Linked DNA regions of Homo sapiens: regions 1, 2 and 3 are each linked to region 4. The links are contacts of gene promoters, found by promoter capture Hi-C in blood cells and fetal thymus (Javierre and others, 2016). All regions are on one chromosome and are shown on one strand. Each heading gives the region's core, a stretch centred on a gene start or on the middle of the fragment in contact. The rest is flanking DNA. Distances are from core to core; before and after follow the strand shown. Region 1 holds the start of VMO1 (vitelline membrane outer layer 1 homolog). Region 2 overlaps ZFP3 (ZFP3 zinc finger protein). Region 3 has its middle 4.4 kb from the start of ZFP3-DT. Region 4 holds the start of SLC25A11 (solute carrier family 25 member 11).

The links. Contacts are between HindIII fragments. The CHiCAGO score rates a contact against its expected background, and 5 or more counts as called.
Region 1: the fragment with the promoter of VMO1 here is called in contact with the fragment with the promoter of SLC25A11 in region 4 in 2 of 17 cell types (monocytes and M2 macrophages); the score reaches 6.6 in monocytes.
Region 2: a fragment that was not itself captured here is called in contact with the fragment with the promoter of SLC25A11 in region 4 in 1 of 17 cell types (naive B cells); the score reaches 5.3 in naive B cells.
Region 3: a contact is called between a fragment that was not itself captured here and the fragment with the promoter of SLC25A11 in region 4, in 6 of 17 cell types (M1 macrophages, naive B cells, total B cells and 3 more). The highest score is 6.7, in M1 macrophages.

The regions. Positions count from the first base shown.
Region 1 is chr17:4,785,024-4,787,779 of GRCh38, forward strand. It overlaps VMO1 (vitelline membrane outer layer 1 homolog), which reads right to left and starts at 1,341. Exons shown (of 3, transcript NM_182566.3): 1 at 1,135-1,341; 2 at 914-1,029; 3 at 262-636. The coding sequence starts at 1,329. The coding sequence ends at 339. The HindIII fragment of the contact is 7,251 bases long and covers 274-2,756 here.
Region 2 is chr17:5,089,739-5,092,576 of GRCh38, forward strand. It overlaps ZFP3 (ZFP3 zinc finger protein), which reads left to right. Exons shown (of 2, transcript NM_153018.3): 2 at 1,759-2,838. The coding sequence starts at 1,767. Among named protein-coding and RNA genes, the nearest start is that of ZFP3, 13 kb to the left of the region's middle. The HindIII fragment of the contact is 3,851 bases long and covers 1-2,838 here.
Region 3 is chr17:5,072,324-5,075,023 of GRCh38, forward strand. No RefSeq gene overlaps it. Among named protein-coding and RNA genes, the nearest start is that of ZFP3-DT, 4.4 kb to the right of the region's middle. The HindIII fragment of the contact is 8,230 bases long and covers 1-2,700 here.
Region 4 is chr17:4,938,796-4,941,495 of GRCh38, forward strand. It overlaps SLC25A11 (solute carrier family 25 member 11), which reads right to left and starts at 1,251. Exons shown (of 8, transcript NM_003562.5): 1 at 1,021-1,251; 2 at 265-417; 3 at 1-180. The coding sequence starts at 1,115. RNF167 (ring finger protein 167) reads left to right here and starts at 1,473. Exons shown (of 10, transcript NM_015528.3): 1 at 1,473-1,565; 2 at 1,692-2,198; 3 at 2,282-2,362. The coding sequence starts at 2,115. RefSeq lists enhancers at 1-58, 59-584, 1,301-1,370, 2,251-2,380 and silencers at 1,091-1,160, 1,723-1,917. The HindIII fragment of the contact is 8,197 bases long and covers 1-2,700 here.

The DNA of each region.
Region 1 (2,756 bases), core at 91-2,590, 150 kb before region 4:
ACCATCCTGGCTAACACGGTGAAACCCCGTCTCTACTAAAAATACAAAAAAAAAAAAAAAAAATTAGCCGGGCGTAGTGGCGGGCGCCTGTAGTCCCAGCTACTCGGGAGGCTGAGGCAGGAGAACGGCGTGAACCCGGGAGGCAGAGCTTGCAGTGAGCCGAGTGAGCCACTGCACTCCAGCCTGGGGGACAGAGCGATACTCCGTCTCAAATAAATAAATTAATAAATAAATAAATGAAATAAACAGGCGAGACCAAAGTCAACTCAGAGAAGCTTTAATAGCAAGAGGTGGGACTAGCCTCCTGGCCCGGGAGAGAGCGGCGGCGGCGGCGCCGTTCAACTGCGGCAGCAGAATAAGCGCGCGTCGTTCAGCGCAGTGTCATCGCCGAGGCCTCTAGGTCCCTGGATCTTGGTCTGCAGGCCGCACGCGCCCTTGGGGCAATGGTCACTCCAGTCTCCAAAGTCTCCCCAGCTCAGCCCAGGCCCCTGCAGTTCCTCGCCGTCTGAACAGCGGAAGCGCACGTTGTTCGCTGCTGTGTTGTCACCGAGGGTCGTGGGTGCCTCCACGCGAAGCGAGAAAGCCACTAGGTAGGCGCCGCCGCGACACCACAGCGGCTCACTCCATTCGCCCCAGCTGCAAGGCAAAGGGAGATGCGTTGCCTCTGCGGGCCCCCCATTCACCAAGCCCTTGAGACTTTCCAAGCCAAGTGCTGTGTATATGACCTGGTGGGCTGGGTGCTCCCCGACCTCCGCCGAGGAGCGGAGGAGGGGTCTTCCATCCACCCTTCGCCTCCCCGGTCTATACTGCCCCGTAGCTCTGGCGGAGCCAGCCTGCCTGTTGCGACGGAGTATGTAATAGAGGGTAAGGGACATACCATCACCCCAAGGGATCCTCGACCCCTGCGCCCCACCTTCCAGACTGGGACTCTACCACGTGCGTATTGCCTAGGACGTTCCCGCGCGCGCAGTGCAGCCTGATCCCATTCAGTGCAGTGTCGTCGCCAGGAATGCCTTGGGGAGGCTCCACCTGGGTATCGAGGAGAGGGGCAAGGGCGAGTCACGGAATTATCATCCTTGGCTCTATGGTCCCACGCATCTCCGCCCTCTCCAGGACCTACGCCTGAGCCCCAACCTTGAGCGAGAACCCGCTGGCGAAGAATCCATCGGGACACATCTCAGGCCAGGCCCAGTCGCCCCAGGGACCCCCGCTGGTCACTTCGATGACCGCCGTGTAGCCGTTCCGGCCATCTGTCTGTGCACATGTGAAACCAGTCGCCCGCAGAAGCAGCAGCAGCGGCAGCAGCTTGGCTCCTGCGCCCCGCTCCATCCTGTAGCGTCTGTGAATCAGGCCTCCTAAGCAGATTTATATCAGTTTGGCCTCTGTGAGGGCTCCGATTGCGGAAGGGCCTCCCAGATTAAGTGAAACCCAAAACTAATCCACTCCCGGAACCCTATTTCCTGCTCCCGGAGGCAGAGGCTCCCAGAGCTAGGGTAGGAGGGGCAGTGAGAGAGGGCGAATTAAAATAACCATCACCTACTGAATATTTACTATAGGCTACGAATTATGGTTAGCGCTTTGCAGTATTTTGTTTAACCCTCACAACAATTTTTGGGGGGTGAGAATTATCCTTCCTATTTTGTAGATGAGGGAACTGGCTCAAAAATGGCAAGCAACTTGCCTTAGGTTTACAGCCAAGCAAGCTGGGAAACATTCCAGCAGTGAGAGTGGAGACAGAGCAGAGACCAGGGCTAGGGATGGAAGTGACCTCCCGGGAGTCCCACCAGTGACGGGATGGGGCAAGAGCAACCCAGAGACCTCCAGGATGTGAGGGGACATCAGAGTGAGGATAGGACAAGAATCCTCGAACTGGAGAAGCTGAGAAAACTCCTGTCAGCTCAGAAGTCTCTTCCTCCTCTGAGAGGTCTTCTGAGAGCTCAGGGCCCTAACACCTTGAGAATCCGGGACACTCCTCCCTACCTTAGAAGAAGACATATACAAACAGAAATAATTCTTTTTTATTTTTATTTTTTGAGTCGAAGTCTCACTCTGTCGCCCAGTGGCGGCATCGCAGTGGCGCGATCTCGGCTCACTGCTACCTCCACCTCCTGGGTTCAAGCGATTCTCCTGCCTCAGCCTCCCGAGTAGCTGGGACTACAGGCGCGCGCCAAGACGCCGCCCCGCTAATTTTTGTATTTTTAGTAGAGACCGGGTTTCACCGTGTTGGCCAGGATGGTCTCTATCTCTTGACCTTGTGATCCGCCTGCCTCGGCCTCCCAAAGTGCTGGGATTACAGGCATGAGCCACCGCGCCCGGTCCAACAGGAATAACTCTAAGAAGTTTGGGGACAGGAGACTAAGAACCCCTAAGAAAAGATCATGCTGTTTCTTCCATTGCTTTCTGTATCCTTATATCCTTTCCTGGAATGCCTTTCCCCCTGTGACCACCAGATGGACTCCTAATTTGCAAAACAAAAAGCGAGAAAATCTGGCTAAGTATGTTTTTTGTTTGTTTGTTTGTTTGTTTGTTTTGAGACGAAGTCTCACTCTGTTGCCCAGGTTGGAGTGCAGTGACGCCATCTCGGCTCACTGCAACCTCTGCCTCCCGGGTTCAAGCGATTCTCTTCCCTTAACCTCCCGAGTAGCTGGGATTATAGGCGTTCGCCACCACGCCCGGCTAATTTGTATATTTTTAGTAGAGACGGGGTGTTGCCATGTTAGCCAGGCTGACCTCAGGTGATCCGCCCACCTCGGCCT
Region 2 (2,838 bases), core at 115-2,614, 150 kb after region 4:
TTGACCCCCTGGGCTCAAGTGACCCTCCTACCTCAGCCTCCCCAGTAGCTGAGACTACAGACACATGCCACTGCCCCTGGCCAATTTTTAAAAAATTTTAGTTGAGACAAGATCTCCCTATGTTACCTAGGCTGGTCTTGAACTCCTGAGCTCAAGCCATCTTCCCACCTCTGCCTCCCAAAGTACTGGAATTACAGGTGTGAGCCACCACACCCTGCCAAAAATGCACTCTTTAAGTAATCTATGAAGGTATTAAGAAAATACTATAAGAGAGCTGATTACAAAATTAATATGTAATGATCAACAGCATTGCTATATATATAAGTAATAGCCAGTTACAAAATGTAAGAAAATCTCACTAAATGAAAAGAGGTACAGAGACATGATGAACATAAAAACAACATCAGCATAAGTTTGGACTACAAATTTATACTAAAGTTTACTTGGGAAGATATGAGAATAGACAGGAAAGGTCTGAAAAAGAAAACTGAGATAACTTTCTCTAGCATATATTAAAAATGTTAATAAAGCTAACAGGTTGAACTGTTTGATATTAGAGAAGACAAGGATCAGTGGAACTGAATAGAATCCAGAAGTTGGCCCAAATATAGATGGATATTTAGACTATGGCATAGGTGGCATTTTAAATCAGTAGGGGAAAGAATTATTCAGTAAATGGTATTGACACAATTCAGTAGCCCTTTGGAGAAGTTTAAAGCCAGTGGCTCCAAATGTCAGGGAGCCAAAGGCGGTACTTCTGTGCTAGTTATAGCTAAGACACATTAATCTTTTGAAGAGGTAAGCCCTCTATGTCCCCTCTCCTGCTCTATAGAGCTGATGAGTACCAGAGAACAGGACTAAGAATAGTCCTCTTGTTACTCATTTTGCAGTTACTTCCCCTGTACACCCAAAAGTTATTTATATTAACTTGTCCTTTTTTTTTCTTTTTTGAGACAGGGTCTGACTCTGTCACCCAGCCTGGAGTGCAGTGGTGCAGTCTCCACTTATTGCAACCTCCGCCTCCCTGGTTCAAGCAATTGTCCTGCCTCAGCCCCCCAAGAAGCTGGGACTACAGGTGTACGCCACCATGCCCAGCTAGTTTTTGTATTTTTAGTAGACAGGGTTTCGCCATGTTGCCCAGGTTGGTCTTGAACTCCTGAGCTCAAATGATCCGCCCGCCTCGGCCTCCCAAAGTGCTGGGATTACAGATGTGAACCACCATGTCATTTCTGTCCCTTCTTTCAATATTTATCGTATACCTATCTATTAATATGGCCACCATTTTCCCTAGATGTTTTCTTTAATCACCTTCAGGTTCTAACCCAACTCACCGTTAATATTATGGATTTTTTTTTTATCAGCATCTCTTTACCATCCATTTCCTACTTCTCTCTTGAAATCTTTTCTCACTCCTGTCAGCATCCACTGTTTAGCATGTCCACCATAATCCTAAATCTGGATCTTCTCTTTGGCAGCATCTTGTCATTTCGCCAGATATCAAGACTGTTTCTGTTTTGTTTTTTTGTTTTGAGAGGGTCTCGCCCTGTCACCCAGGCTGAAGTGCAGTGGCGCATTTCAGCTCACTGCAGCCTTGACCTCCCCAGGCTCAAGCAATCCTCCTGCCTCAGCTGCCCTCCTCCCCTGACCAAGACTGTTTCTGAGTGCTATGAGAACTACATCAAAGCTCTGTTGTCCTCTAGTGTTAGCTTCATTTAAATATGATACGGTCCCTTCACATACTTACCTCTCTCATTTCAGATTGTGAGATGGGGACTGAGAACAAGGAGGTGATTCCCAAGGAAGAAATTTCTGAAGAATCTGAGCCACATGGGTCATTATTAGAAAAATTTCCAAAAGTGGTTTACCAAGGTCATGAGTTTGGAGCAGGATGTGAAGAAGACATGTTGGAGGGACATTCGAGAGAGTCCATGGAAGAGGTTATAGAGCAGATGTCTCCTCAGGAGAGAGACTTTCCATCAGGGTTGATGATCTTTAAGAAATCACCCTCAAGTGAGAAAGACCGGGAGAATAATGAGAGTGAGAGAGGCTGCAGTCCCAGCCCAAATCTGGTTACACATCAGGGAGATACAACAGAGGGAGTTAGTGCATTTGCTACCTCTGGCCAAAACTTCCTAGAGATTTTAGAATCTAACAAAACACAGAGAAGTTCTGTGGGAGAAAAGCCTCATACATGTAAAGAATGTGGGAAAGCCTTTAATCAGAACTCACATCTCATCCAGCATATGAGAGTTCATAGTGGAGAAAAACCCTTTGAATGTAAAGAATGTGGAAAGACATTTGGAACTAATTCAAGCCTTCGACGGCACCTGAGAATTCATGCTGGAGAAAAACCCTTTGCTTGTAATGAATGTGGAAAGGCCTTCATTCAGAGTTCACACCTTATTCACCATCATAGAATTCATACTGGAGAGAGACCCTATAAATGTGAAGAATGTGGTAAAGCCTTCAGTCAAAATTCAGCCCTTATTCTACACCAGAGAATCCATACTGGAGAGAAACCATATGAATGTAATGAATGTGGGAAGACCTTTAGGGTTAGTTCACAGCTTATTCAGCATCAGAGAATTCATACTGAAGAAAGATACCATGAATGCAATGAGTGTGGCAAAGCCTTCAAGCATAGCTCAGGCCTTATTAGACACCAGAAAATTCATACTGGAGAAAAACCATATCTGTGTAATGAATGTGGGAAGGGCTTCGGGCAGAGTTCTGAGCTTATCCGGCATCAGAGAATTCATACAGGGGACAAACCCTATGAATGTAATGAATGTGGGAAAACTTTTGGCCAGAACTCAGAGATTATTAGACATATTAGAA
Region 3 (2,700 bases), core at 114-2,613, 130 kb after region 4:
AAAAAAAAAAAAAAAGAAGTATATTTTCTACTGAATGTGTATTGTTCCCGCACTGTTGTAAAGTCAAAAACTTGCAAGTTGAAGCATTGTTAAGTTGGGGACCATCTGTATAATTGTTAACTCCAGAGTAGGAAGTTGCTCCTTTGCTCTACTTCCTTACATCTTCACAGCTGGAGGTGTAAGGGGGAACACCAAGGATGTAACTGAACCTTGATTCAGCTTCAGCCAGTCACGTTACTGTGCAGAGGTGAGATATGAATATTTTTGTCCATCAAGTTTCCACTGAACAGAGGCCCAGCACCACCAGTGCCTCCTGCAGAACTCTCAAAGACATGTGACATGGTCCTGGACCTCAAGGACAGCTGTGTGTCTGTAGGAAATAGTTAAATCACATGAGGCAAGATTCGTCTGTGTCACATTGAGTGAGACTTTGGGTATGTAGGATGTTCTGTGAGGTTGGCCTAGTTAAAAGAAGAAAGGCAGGAGTAAGGAAGCAGCTGGCAGTGATAAGAAGCGGAGCCCGGGCGCAGTGGCTCATGCCTGTAATCCCAACACTTTGGGAGGCCGAGGTAGGTGGATCACTTGAGGTGAAGAGTTCGAGACCAGCTTGTCCAACACGGCGAAACCCTGTCTCTACTGAAAATACAAAAATTAGCCAGGAGTGGTGGTGCATGTCTGTAATCCCAACTACTTGGGAGGCTGAAGCAGGAGAATCGCTTGAACCCAGCAGGCGGAGGTTGCAGTGAGCCAAGATTGCACCATTGCACTCCAGCCTGGGCGACAAGAGTGAAGCTCTGTCTCAAAAATAAAATAAAATAAAATAATAAAATAATAAAATAAAAATGTAAGAAAGGAGTGCAGCCAGTGCCTGTAGCCCTCCTTCTCACATATTCTACAGATAGAAGAGAAGGGACAAGGGTGAAATAGTGCAGTGTGTCTTTGGTTTCTCCATGTGTTTGTCTCTGTGTGAATTCAGGAGGGTGGTCAGTGTTCCTATCTACCTTTTTTTTTTTTTTTAAGAGGAACAGAACTGCTCATACTCACCTATAAAGCCAATTCTGTGGAAGTCCTGAACCTGTTAGTAGACCGTGAAACATCAGCCCCTGCCCAGTCATACACATCCTCATACAGGCTGAAAGTGGGAACAGTATTTACAAACCATATGTCCTTGTCTCCTTCACTCAGTAGATTCCTATTACTCCAGGTGGCACCTAGGTTGGCTAGTGTAATAAAGCAGACGGTGGGCCAGGCGTGGTAGCTCACGGCTGTAATCCCAGCACTTTGGGAGGCCGAGGTGGGCGGATCACCTGAGCTCAGGAGTTCCAGACAAGCCTGACTAACATGGAGAAACCCTGTCTCTACTAAAAATACAAAAATTAGCCGGGCGTGGTGGCACGTGGCTGTATTCCCAGCTACTCAGGAGGCTGAGGCAGGAGAATCGCTTGAACCTCGGAGGTGGAGGTTGCGGTGAGCCAAGATCACGCCATTGCACTCCAGCCTGAGCGACAAGAGCAAGACTCCATCTCAAAAAACAAAACAAAATAAAATAAAATAAAGCAAACGGTGAGCCGGGGAGTGGCTGAGAGGAGACAACTTATCCTTTTCCTTCCTAACTCACACACAAGCGCAGGTCAGATTAAGCACTGCCAAAGCTGGGGCCAATGATTCTCAAACTTTATTGTGCATCAGAGCCATGAAGTGTTGTTAAAACACACATTTCTGGGCCGGGCTTGGTGGCTCACACCTGTAATCCTGGCACTTTGGGAGGCCGAGGCAGGTGGATCACCTGAGGACAGGAGATCAAGACCAGCCTGGCCAATACGGTGAAACCCCATCTCTACTAAAAGTACAAAAATTAGCCAGGTGTGGTGGTGCATACTTATAATCCCAGCTACTCGGGAGGCTGAGGCAGGAGAATCACTTGAACCCAGGAGGCGGAGGTTGTGGTGAGCTGAGATGGCACCACTGCACCCCAGCCTGGGCGACAGAGTGGACTCCATCTCAAAAAACAACAGCCACCAAACCAAACAAAACAAAACAAAAAAGCCACAACACATTTCTGAGCTCCAACTCCAGAGTTTCTGATTTAGAAGATCTGTGGGTGGGGCCTAAGAATTTTCATTTCTAACAAGTCCCCAGGTGATGCTAATGCTGCTGGTTTAGAGACCACACTTTGAGAACCATTGGCCTATGCTATTGGTTTTCAACCATGGCTGTAGGTCAGAATTACCTGGAAAGTTAAAAGCAAAACAATCCACGTCCAGATCTTTTTTCAGATCAATTTCAACAGAGTCTATGTGGGAGGCACCAGACAGCCATGATTTTAGACCCCAGGTGATTCCAATGTGCAGTCAAGTGTAGGGGTGGGTTGCCCCTCCACACCTGTGGGTGTTTCTCGTAAGGTGGAACGAGAGACTTAGGAAAGAAAAAGACACAGAGACAAAGTATAGAGAAAGAAATAAGGGGACCCAGGGAACCAGCGTTCAGCATATGGAGGATCCCGCCAGCCTCTGAGTTCCCTTAGTATTTATTGATCATTTGTGGGTGTTTCTCGAAGAGGGGGATGTGTCAGGGTCACAAGACAATTGTGGGGAGAGGGTCAGCAGACAAACACGTGAACAAAGGTCTTTGCATCATAGACAATGTAAAGGATTAAGTGCTGTGCTTTTAGATATGCATACACATAAACATCTCAATGCT
Region 4 (2,700 bases), core at 1-2,500:
GCCACTTCGGCTGGTGTTCCCACAAAGGCACCAGTGGCACCTGCGGTCATGCCAATCACAGCCTTCAGCAGAAAGCCAGGGGGAGTACCATCAGCCCCAGTCAGGCGCTCAAACAGCACGGTATAGATGCCAAGGCGGGTAGTGGTGTAGGTGGCCTGACGCAGCAGGCCAGCCGACAGCCTGAGGAGCAGAGGGGTCAGCATATCAGGCCAAGGTCTAGAGCTGCCAACCCACAGTCTACCCTCCATCCTGAGGCCCCAATACCCAGTGTAAATGCCCCTCAGGCCTTCTGCCTTCAGGATACTGGTGAGGGCATGGAAGCTGGTTTTGTACTCTCGAGTCTTGGCCCCTTCCCCGCTCAACTGCATCCGGTTCTTCACCAGGTCCAGGGGCTGGACAAAAACTGTAGCTCCCATCCTGGGGGAAGACAGAGGTGGAGTGAAGGGCCAGGCATTCCAGATCTACCAGTGCCCACTGGAGCCTGGCAGCAAGAGGTTACAAAGGTCAGGGCCTGCCATGCGATTCAAGAATCAGGATGCTGGTGAGCATGTGTATAAGAGTCTATATGTACACCAAGTGCAACGGGTCTGAAAAGTCTAGTTGTCCAGTAGGGGCCATGCAATGAAAGTGCTCCAAGCAGCTTCATGACAGTCAAGCAGTGACCTGGGGCTGCACGCAGTCCGACACAGGGAGGGGAGGAAGGGGCATCCAAGATTTAGGACTCCAGGTAGTCCTGCAGGAGCCATTTAATGGCCTGGAACCCCCTGCCGCCCGGCCGAGCTTAGCAATGCGCTGGGAAACTCAGCTGGCCCGGCGGGGGTTGTGCAACGACCCTGCATGCAGTCCATAAGGGTCCTGCAATGGGGCCCTAGCAGCCCATCGGGGAACTCGCAATACGCTGGAGATCGCGCTGACCCCGTGCCGGCACAGTTCACTGCAACAGACCCAGAGATGAACCGGGCCCGGTTCCTTTTGCCCTTCCCTTCCTCCTCTTTTCCCATCCCTGGGGCCTGAGCTTACCCGGCCAGGCCCCCAAACAGGAACTTGACGGACTTAGGGGAGGTACGGGGCTTCCCGTCTATCCCGCCGGCCCCGGCACTCGCCGTCGCCGCCATCGCCACTCAATGGCCCTCGGCTCCGGGTCCCGTGCGCGCGCGGCCCCGCTCGCGCCCAAGGTGACACCGCGCGCGCAACAGAGCGAGGGCGCGCGCACGCCCCTCCAGCTCTCAGGTCCGACACCCGCTGGAAGCCGGCGCGGGCGCAGGCGCGCAGCGCAAAGGCGGCCGGGAGTAAGGCGGAGCTGAAGGAGGAGCTTGATGGAAGCGTGCGAGAAGGGGCGTAACTGATTTGGAAACCAGAGGAAAGGCGCTGTTTTCACCGAATTAGAATCGCGGGAAAATAGAGAAGAGTTTGTTTGAAGGTCTCGCGAGATCGAGTGAGTACGGCTCGCCAAGTTGGAGCGCTCTCGCGATAGACACAGCAACTATTCAGCTGCGAGGGGACGGGAGAGGTGGTGAGCACTCTCGCGAGATTTGAAGGAGCGGCGGAGGCCAGAGGGAGGAGAGGTTTGTAAACTAGGAGGCTCCGGGTTTCCGGGCACTTTTATTAGGTCGTCTTCTGGGCCACCAGTGCCCCTTCCATCTCCACAGGCAGTCCCTCCATCGCTAACCTTTTTTTAACCGGCCTTTTAGGACCGGAAGTCCTTCATCTCAAGCATCCAATGCTGAAAGCGGCCTGATTTTCTCTACCGGAAGCCCTTTTCCAGAGGCTGGGAACACGGCCCACCTAGCAGGAAGTCCCACCTCCTTGAGCTCCGCCACCCTTCCCGAAGTTTTTCTGTCACCTGTGTTAGGCTCCGTCCCCTTTCCGCGTTTTATCCCCGTACCAGAAAAGGATACATTTAGTGCCTCCCACCCAGCTCCACTAAACGGGTTGGATATCTCATTCTTTGAGTTGGTGTTCCTTCCCCGGCGCCCCCATGTAGCTGGGAAGTGGGACCTGGGGGTGGTTGGACCCCTGGGATCCTAAAGGAGGGGCAGGGAGGGCGCAGAACTCCGCTTCTGCTCCTTGCTACCAGGACGCGCGGCCTCCTCAGCCTCTTTCCTCCCGCTGCCATGCACCCTGCAGCCTTCCCGCTTCCTGTGGTTGTGGCCGCTGTGCTGTGGGGAGCGGCCCCGACCCGGGGGCTCATTCGAGCGGTGAGTCTGAGGGACGGATGGGGAAAGGGCGCTGAAAGGAAGGGTTGCAGGCTGAAGGGGAACATCGCCTTTTTTGTCCGCAGACCTCGGACCACAATGCCAGCATGGACTTTGCAGACCTTCCAGCTCTGTTTGGGGCTACCTTGAGCCAGGAGGGCCTCCAGGTGATTTTCTTTCTTTTCTTTTCCTCCTTCCCTCCCTTCCTTCCTTTTCTGTCTTTTTTCTTTTTTTAGTATTTCGCAAGATCCTCCATCCTAGGCTGGGGTTGGGGAGGTTTGTCCTGGGTGAAACTGGAGGTAGGAAAATGAAGTTAGGAACTGAGCACGTCTAGTGTAGAACCCAGAATCTAGAGGGAGAAGACAGAGTGTCCACCCCTGGAACTCCGAGGTTATCAGGGAGACTGAAAGTGGACGAAGACAGAAGGCAGGATCAACGGTCCTTATCAGGAAGGTCTCAGGTGCTAGTTATTGCTTATATGACTTTGGGCAAGTTAATCTCTCTG